Regions from separate parts of the Homo sapiens genome. Here region 1 is linked to region 2. The links are contacts of gene promoters, found by promoter capture Hi-C in human tissues and cell types (Jung and others, 2019). All regions are on one chromosome and are shown on one strand. Each heading gives the region's core, a stretch centred on a gene start or on the middle of the fragment in contact. The rest is flanking DNA. Distances are from core to core; before and after follow the strand shown. Region 1 overlaps CDK10 (cyclin dependent kinase 10). Region 2 holds the start of ACSF3 (acyl-CoA synthetase family member 3).

The links. The method cuts DNA at HindIII sites, captures the fragments that hold promoters and counts their contacts. A contact is called where the count stands out against the background at its distance.
Region 1: a fragment that was not itself captured here is called in contact with the fragment with the promoter of ACSF3 in region 2 in 2 of the 25 tissues and cell types used here (dorsolateral prefrontal cortex and lymphoblastoid cells).

The regions. Positions count from the first base shown.
Region 1 is chr16:89,688,545-89,692,209 of GRCh38, reverse strand. It overlaps CDK10 (cyclin dependent kinase 10), which reads right to left. Exons shown (of 13, transcript NM_052988.5): 2 at 2,886-2,958; 3 at 1,586-1,657; 4 at 665-767; 5 at 323-404. Among named protein-coding and RNA genes, the nearest start is that of LINC02166, 3.5 kb to the right of the region's middle. The HindIII fragment of the contact is 5,257 bases long and covers 1-3,665 here.
Region 2 is chr16:89,090,922-89,095,870 of GRCh38, reverse strand. It overlaps ACSF3 (acyl-CoA synthetase family member 3), which reads right to left and starts at 2,019. Exons shown (of 11, transcript NM_001243279.3): 1 at 1,875-2,019. RefSeq lists enhancers at 1-16, 1,236-1,425 and a silencer at 1,846-2,255. The HindIII fragment of the contact is 24,302 bases long and covers 1-4,949 here.

The DNA.
Region 1 (3,665 bases), core at 1,131-3,630, 600 kb before region 2:
GAAGGCTCTCCGCCCAGGGCTCCCCGCTCCCAGCAGCCCAGGAAACCAGTGCCCTCAGAAGGCTCTCAGCCCCGGGGCTGCCTGCTCCCAACAGCCCAGGAAACCAGTGCCCTCATAAGGCTCTCGGCCCTGGGGCTGCCCGCTCCCAGCAGATGCCCCCACCACAGGAATTCCACCTCACTGAAGCTCGCTGAAACACTGGGAGGTGGAGGCAGAGGCAGCAGCAGCTCTTCAAGTCCCCAAGTGCCCTGTTTCGTTATAAATGTGCACCACAAGGGCCCATGAAGCCCATTCCCCCACCCCAGGCCCCTCTGCCACGCACCTGAGCCTCCGAGAAGGGTGTTGGCATATTCTCCAGGAGGCTGGCCAGGTCCTGCTCACAGTAACCCATCACCAGGAAGATGCTGGAAGAAACAGAAGATGCATGCCACTCTCCGGCCTTCTCCTAAGGGGTGGAAGTGGAGCCTCCCCTGCTGCAGGAGGGGACATGGGCAGGACAACCTGTGTCCCCCTCAGACAATGGGCTGAGCCAGGCGGTGAGGTGGGGTCATCTCTTCTCTGACAACCTCATGCCCAGTGACACTCAGTCCTCGCTCTGTGCAACACCTCTAGCCCAAGACACATGCTCCCTAGGGCCCAATGTGCAGACCAGGAGACCACGTACCTCTCCAGGTGGTTCCCCACAACCACCTCCTTCAGCTCCACGATGTTCGGATGACGCAGGCGGAGCAGCAGCGTGATCTCCCGCAAGCTGCTGATGGGGATGCCTGGGGAGGGAGGTGGCCTCAGCGAGCCCCACCCCAGTGATGGCGGGGAAGCCCCAACCCCAGCCACTCTTGGGCTTCACGAACACCTGATAGCAGGTGCTGCAGTGTCCCCACCTCAGGGAGAATTGGGGCGACCCCAATAAGCATTTTTTTTTTTTTGAGACGGAGTTTCGCTCGTTGCCCAGGCTGGAGTGCAATGGCACCATCTCGGCTCACCGCAACCTCTGCCTCCCGGGTTCAAGCAATTCTCCTGCCTCAGCCTCCCTAGTAGCTGGGATTACAGGCATGTGCCACCACGCCTGGCTAATTTTGTATTTTTAGTAGAGATGGGGTTTCTCCATGTTGGTCAGGCTGGTCTTGAACTGCCGACCTCAGGTGATCCGCCTGCCTCGGCCTCCCAAAGTGCTGGGATTACAGGCATGAGCCACCATGCCCGGCCCAATAAGCACTTTTAACTCTTCCTTGACCAAATACGAATCGGCACCTCTCTAAACACCGTGGACATCTATGTGGGGCATGGCAGGGCCCTGCCTGCACAGGCAGGTGCTGGGGGTGGAGGGGACAGCAGAGCTGAGCCTGCAGTGAGGTGGCCTCACCAGACAGGAGGGGGAGGAGGGGATGGAGACTGCAGAGCCCTCCTGGCAGACAGCTGAGGCTGCGTGTGGACCTGGGGGTGATGTGCTGGGCCACACCAGAACCCTCCCAGAGGCCGGCCCCCGCTACAAGCACCGTGCAGTCGCTCTGAGGAAACTTCAGGTAACTCACATCCTTCTGCCTCCTCCCAGTGCGAGGTCCCAACACCCCAATTTCCTGCTCACCATCCTTCTCCTTGTCCATCCGCACCTTCTTCAGTGCGACAATCTCATCTGTCTGGGTGTCCCGGGCCCGATCTGGAATGGAAACACATTGGTGATGACATCATCTCGATGCCCCTCGTGGGCTCCCTAGCGCTGAACGGGAGGCTCTCCCTGAGCCACAGGGGTCCCCGTTCTTTCCTCTGACAACCTCATGCCCAGTGACACTCAGTCCCCACTCTGTGCAACGCCCCTAGCCCGAGACGCGTTCCCCCGGAGGGTTTCCTCATTTGAACTGGGCAGGGGGTGCCCAACTTTGCTCTGTGCTGGACCCTGGCCTCCAGCCACTCAGTTCTGTGGCTCCAGGCTCTCCATGTCCTCCTTAGCATGCAGATCACTGCTTTGTGCTCTCTTGTAATGTCCTAAAAGCAAATAAGGTACTCTATGCAGAAAAAAGCAAACCTTATTTTGTGTGAAGATGGCTCTACAAAACATCCTGCTAATGTGTGCAGCTTCCAGAATGACCTACGCCAATTTCACATCTGTTATAACCTTTAGTTGTGTGTGGTGTTTTTGGTTTTTTTGAGACAGGGTCTCACTCTGTTGCCAAGGCTGGGGTGCAGTGGCGTGATCACAGCTCACTGCAGCCTCAAACTCCTAGGCTTGGCCGGGTGCAGTGGCTCACACCTGTAATCCCAGTGCTTTGGGAGGCCGAGGCAGGAGGATCATTTGAGCCCAGAAGTTCAAGACCAGCCTGGGCAACATAGGGAGATCCCATCTCTACCAAAAATTTAAAAATTAGCTGGGTGTGCTTATGTACTCTTGTGGTCCCAGATACTCAGGAGGCTGAGGTGGGAGGATCACTTGAGCCTAGGAGGTCGAGGCCGCAGTGAGCTATGATCATGCCACTGCACTCCAGTCTGGGCAATAGAGCAAGACCCATCTCAAAAACAAACAAAAAGAAAAAACACCTGGGCTCAGGTGACTCCTCCAGAGTTGCTGAGGTGATAGACATGAGCACCATGTCCAGCTCCTGCTGCTTCTGGAAAGTTCTGTATTTTATTTCTCTAACAGTTCTGTGTACTCTGCAGTGACACGTTTGGATTATGGGCATTAGCAACCGGATGCTTACGTTTACCCAGAAATGGTACAATGTTTGTGATAACTACATCAGGAATTGAAGTTCCTGAACAGGTTTCTGCCCTGTTTCAGAGCACAGGGTCTGAGTCCCTTCCAGCCCCAACGCGGCTGCTGCTTCGACAGTCTCGTCCCACACTGTCACAGCCACGAGCTGCGGCCACATGTCCTAGCCTTGGCCACTCACACACAATGCCGTAGGTACCCTCTCCAATGCGGTTCAGCTTCTCAAACTCCTTCACACTCCGGCATCGTCCCAGCTGAAACAGAAGGGTGTTGCCAGTGTGGAAATTTGGCAGCTGATGGAACAACTGAGGAAATTTCAAATGGAATTTGTACCAGGGAGCCCACTCACGTCTTGCTCACCAAACAGAAAGGCAACCACACGTTTGGGCTTTTTTTTTCTTTTTTTGAGACTGAGTCTCGCTCTGTTGCCCAGGCTGGAGTGCAGTGGCAAGAACATGGTTCACTGCAACCTCCGCCTCCTGGGTTCAAGTGATTCTCCGGCCTCAGCCTCCTGAGTAGCTGGGATTACAGGCAGGTGCCACCACAACCGCCTAATTTTCTATTTTTAGTAGAGACTGGGTTTCACCATGTTGGCCAGGCTGGTCTTGAGCTCCTGACCTCAAGTGATCTGCCCGCCTTGGCCTCCCAAAGTGCTGGGATTACAAGCGTGAGCCACCGTACCCGGCCTCTTGGGCTTTTCTGATGAGAAAAGGTGGTGACGATACTGGGCCAATGCTTTGAAAGAAATATCAGAGGCGGCCACTCAGATACTCCCTTTCAATCCCACATACAAAAATACATCTGTGGCAGAGGCTGCTGTCCCAGCATCCCTGTATCACTACCTCCTGGAAGTTATGAAACGCTACCCAGTGGCATCTGGCCTTGGAATGTGAGCTGAAGGGACCGTGTGACTTCCAGGTGAAAGGAAGCTTTCACCTCTTCTCACCTCAGTGACGGGAAG
Region 2 (4,949 bases), core at 770-3,269:
TCACTGGCCTAGCCCTTCACTTCCCACCGCTAAGATGGCACAGTAACAAGACCTGCCTCACAGGCTTCACGTGAGAATGTACGAATGGCCCGGCACAGGCCAGGCAGAAGACAAACGGCCGCGCCGTGCTCAGCAGGGTGCTCCCCATGGAGCCTCGCAACAAAAATTACTAGATGAGAATGACACTCGCATTCAAATGAAGGGCTGCTTTCAACATGAATAAAACGACACCTGACCTGTTCACCACCACACCTGACACCCCCGCCCCCCCAGACCTTGTGTTTGAAGTGGATGCCGGCACTTCCTCCTGTCGGCTGCCCCGATGAGAGCGTGGGGCAGAGGAGGGCTGTGCTCGGCCTGCGGGGCAGGATGCGTTTCAGCATCACACCTGTGGTTTGGAGGGTTATTTTCAAAATTACATTTTTAAGTAACAGACATTCACATTGCATTCATGAGCAGTACATTCAAATAAAAAAAACCAAAAAGGAAAAATACACTTGAAACCCATATCCATTTTAGGAAGAAAAATACTATTTTAAAAATGCCATCTGGAAAGGTGACACTTACAACTATCCCAAGCCCACAGTTTAATCCGCCATTTCTGTCTGCCTTGAGGAGATGGTTCAGAGCCAAAGGAGCAAGAGCAAGGGAAGCCTCATCTTATGTCCTCCAACACCTGCGGAGAGGACACCAGCCTGAGCCAGGCTTCACGCTACAAAGCTCGCAGGGTCCCCAGGGTCCACCGGTAGTAACACCCGTGCTCCTGGGTCCACCATGTGAACCCCCTCCTCAACAAGGTCTCAGCCTTGGGCCCTAACACGAATGTCTGTCCTCCCAGGATGGGAAAGCAACAACTATGCCCCAGACACAATTCGTGTTCCTATCTCTAAACGTGTTCCCTTTCTAGCAAATTCCTAATCATTCTTCCAAGCCCAGTTCAAATATCACCTCTTCTTTTTCAGTTTTATTATTTATTGAGACAGTGTCTTGCTCTGCCACCTAGGCTGGAGTGCAATGGTGCTGTCATGGCTCACTGCAGCCTCCGATTCCTGGGCTCAAGAAATCCTCGTGCCTCAGCCTAACCAGTAGCTGGAAGTGCAGGTGTACGCCACCACACCCAGCTAATTTTTACATTTTTTTGTAGAGATAGGGGTCTCACCATGTTGCCCAGGCTGGCTTTGAACTCCTGGCCACAAGTGATCCTCCTGCCTCTGCTGCCCAAAGCGCTGGGATTACAGGCATGAGCCACTGCACCTGGCCTGCCTGGTGGAATTTAGACTCAGGACAGCAACATCAACTCCTGACTGCACCGGGCCTCACCCCTTTAAACCTTCCCTCTCTCCAGGGAATGGGCTGCCTGCAGTACCTTCCAAATACTTCACGGCCGGCCGCACGTCTCCATTGCTTGCTCATAGATCTACATGCCCTCAGGGGCTAGGCCGGCTGTGAACCTGTGCCCCACGCGCCCAGCAAGGTGCACGCAGCAAACAACTAAAACGGGGAGTACTTCAAGGGTGACTTCTGAAGCCCAATGAGAAATGGAAGTGAATTTATTCCAAACACAACCAAAGACGATTCGTTCTGAGGATGCCTGAACACGGACCCCGCCGGCTCGACGGTATCACCGGGCCCGGCGTCCGCACAGCTTCTCTCCCCGCACCCCGCGCGGGGGCCCCGCTCCCCACCGGACACGAGAGGCTCGGCGTCCCGGGAAGGCCGACGCCCGGCCCCAGGCGGCTCGCGGGGAAGCGACCGCGCCACGGGCCACGGCTCAAGCCCAGCTGCGACCCAGGGGCGGGCGCCGGAGCCCGCGCCCCCGAGAGCTCTGCGCCCGGCCGACCCCGCCGCGGTCCCGTGGGCCCCGCCGCCCGCACCTACGAGACGGCCGCGGCCACGGGGCAGGATCTGCCTCGCCACAACTCTTCCTCGTCCTCCGCCGCGCGCGCGCCGGGGTCGGGCCGGGTTCCGGCCGGGTCCCGCGGGGTCGTGAGTCGGGCCGGACCAGTTCCGGCGCCCAACAGCTTCCCCGGCGCGGCGCGTCCGTCGCCCAAGCGCGTCCCCCCGGCGCGGCGCCGTGGCGGCGGGTTCCGGGCGCGCGTGTTCCCCTGTCCCGCCCGTCCCGTCGTGGCGGGGTCGGGGCCGCGGGCGTCTCGTGAGCCGTGGCCGAGGCAAGGCGCCGTGGTCTCCGCTAGCCCAGGGCTGCCCAGATCAGAACGGCGCGCGGGACCACTCCCAACGCGGATTGCTGGGCCTCGCCCCGTCCTCCCAAAAGGGGCTCTCTGGGCTTTGCGGCTGGGGGTCTGCACGCTGAGCTCCTGGGTGATTTTATTATTATTATTATTGTTGTTACTTTTTCTTATTATTATTATTATTTTGAGATGGAGTCTCGCTCTGTCGCCCAGACTAGAGTGCAGTGGTGTGATCTCGGCTCACCGCAACCTCCGCCTCCCGGGTTCAAGTGATTCTCCTGCCTCAACCTCCCAATTAGCTGGGACTACAGGCGCCCGCCATCATGCCTGTCTAATTTTTGTATTTCTTGGGTGATTTTAAACGGACCGCATTTGAGAATCTCTCCTCGAAGGGACTTGGGAACCAGGATACGAATATGAAGCGAGACTGTTGGATGGACAGTGGCGGAAAACATTTAAAGCCAAACACAAAGTCCAGTTGGCTGAAATTTGAGGGTTTTTCCCCTAAAATGAATACTAATAACACAAAGACATGTACTGGCAAACAGTAGTACAAATTATCTGCAGAACCGTCCTGGTGTGATGGCTCACGCCTGTAATCCCAGCACTTTGGGAGGCCGAGGTAGGCAGATCACGAGGTCAGGAGTTCAAGACCAGCCTGACCAACATGGTGAAACCCTGTCTCTCCTAAAAATACAAAAATTAGCCGGGAGTGGTGGCAGGTGCCTGTAATCCCAGTTACTCGGGAGGCTGAGGCAGGAGAATCTCTTGAGCCTGGGAGGTGGCGACTGCAGTGAGCTGAGATTGCGCCACTGCACTCCAGCCTGGGCAGCAGAGTGAGACTGTCTCAAAAAAAAAAAAAAATTATCTGCAGAACCTTGCACAGTTTTTTTGTAAGTGTATTATTTTCCATGCCCATCTTCCTCTCTTGTGATGATTGCTGGGGCAGCAGTTGTGTCCTTGGAAAGCTCAGGAAAGGGCACTTCAGGAGCCCGAGGATGGTTTTCCTGGGAGGAAGGAGCTGGATCTGGGGGAAGTTTGTAACACAGAGCGTGGGAGAACAAACCCAAACTTCTAGTGCCTCTGGTTGCCACCCTGCTAGGTATCATGCAGAAAAAGCAAGTCCAACCCTCTGCCACTGGGACAGGCTTGATCTGGTGTCAGAATTCTGTCTGCTTCCAGGACTCAGCAGGCTGAATGGTGTTTCCGACGAGGGCAGTAGGAAGAGTAAGGAGGGCGTCTAACATCAGGATTCAGCCCCAGGACGTGTGTGCGCAAATTTCTATCCCTGGGAAGTTGAAGAGCTCAGGCTGCGTCACCCACCTAGAGACAGGACTTGGGACAGGGTGACAGCTCCCGTGGTCCTTGGCCATGGCTCTGTGAGGGTGGCAGTGGGGGGAGGGTGCAGTCTCCGAGAAATGGCCCAGTCATCCTATGAGCAGGGGTCCCATCTGTGCCTCGGCTCTGGTCAGCATCATAGTGGCAGGTGGGAAGCAGGAGCAGTCAGGGATTAGCAGACATTGGAGGACAGCCTCTAGCCAGAGAGACGTGGGCTGAAACAACCAGCAGAACAACTGCAGGCAGCCAGGCTGTGCAGAGTGAAGAGACCCCCAAAACCACCCCCTGTTAATACCCTCAGGGAGACAAGGGAAGCGACAGCCCCCATGAGTCCAGAGCGAGATGCCCCGAGAAAGAGCGTTCCAGTAACATAAAGGGGGGCTGGAGGGGTCAGAATACAACAGCCTGAGTAAAAACCCTAAGGGAAGGGCTAAAGGACGTCTCCTAGAAATAGAACAGAAAGACCGAGAGATGAAAAACAGGAGAGGAAAGATAAAAAAATCAGTGGGCTCAGGCAGGCATCCAATATGCTAAATACGGTAGTTTCAGGAAGGGAGGGCAGAGAAAACAGAGAGAAGTCAGCTGTCAGGTAAACTCGTGGACATTAGCAGACGAAGGGCTGCAGAACATCCAGCGCAGGGAGTGAAAGTGGCCGCACCAACCAGGCAGACGACGTCAATGTAGTTTAGAACATGTGGACAGGGAGGGTCCTAAGTGCCCACCTGGCATCTCACTGGGACATCCAAGAGACATCAGACCCCGATGTGGCCCCAGAGGAGCTCAGGTCTCCCCCGCAGCAGCGCCCCCACCCTCACACTTTGCATCTCACCCTCGATCCTGGGGTTCAGTCTATGGCTCCCTGCTTCCCTCCCACACCACATTGAGTCCTACTGGTTTCTCCTGCAAATTCTGTCAGAGACTGTCCCACCAGCGCTGCTGTAACCACCCAGACCAGGAAAGCCTTGTTTCCTAAAGGAGTCCTCACTGGATTCATGAAGAACCCAACAGTGGCTGGAGTAGCCCCATTAAAACCTGAGTGGGATCCTGCTCAGAACCCACAGGGGGTCCTGCCCAAGCCCTGTTGTGGCCACCAGGTCCCCGAGCCCCGCCCTCCTCCCCTCTGGCCTTGTTTCCTGTGACTCCCGGGAGTCCTGGCCTGGCAGGCAGGGGCAATCCCCCCGCGGGAAGATGGTGGACAGAGTGTCCTGTGTGTTTACCATGTTGAGAGGAGACTTGAACAATGCAAGCAAAGTTTAGGGATAGATGATCAATACATAGAAAACTAATCAAGAAAAATAAGGCAGAGATTAAACACTGGGAACACAGGAAGATGTGTTTGCCAGCAAAGGGCACGTGATCATGTTGCTGTAGGAGGCTCCGCTGTCCATAGCATTTACTAAACTACGATCATTTCAACATCTA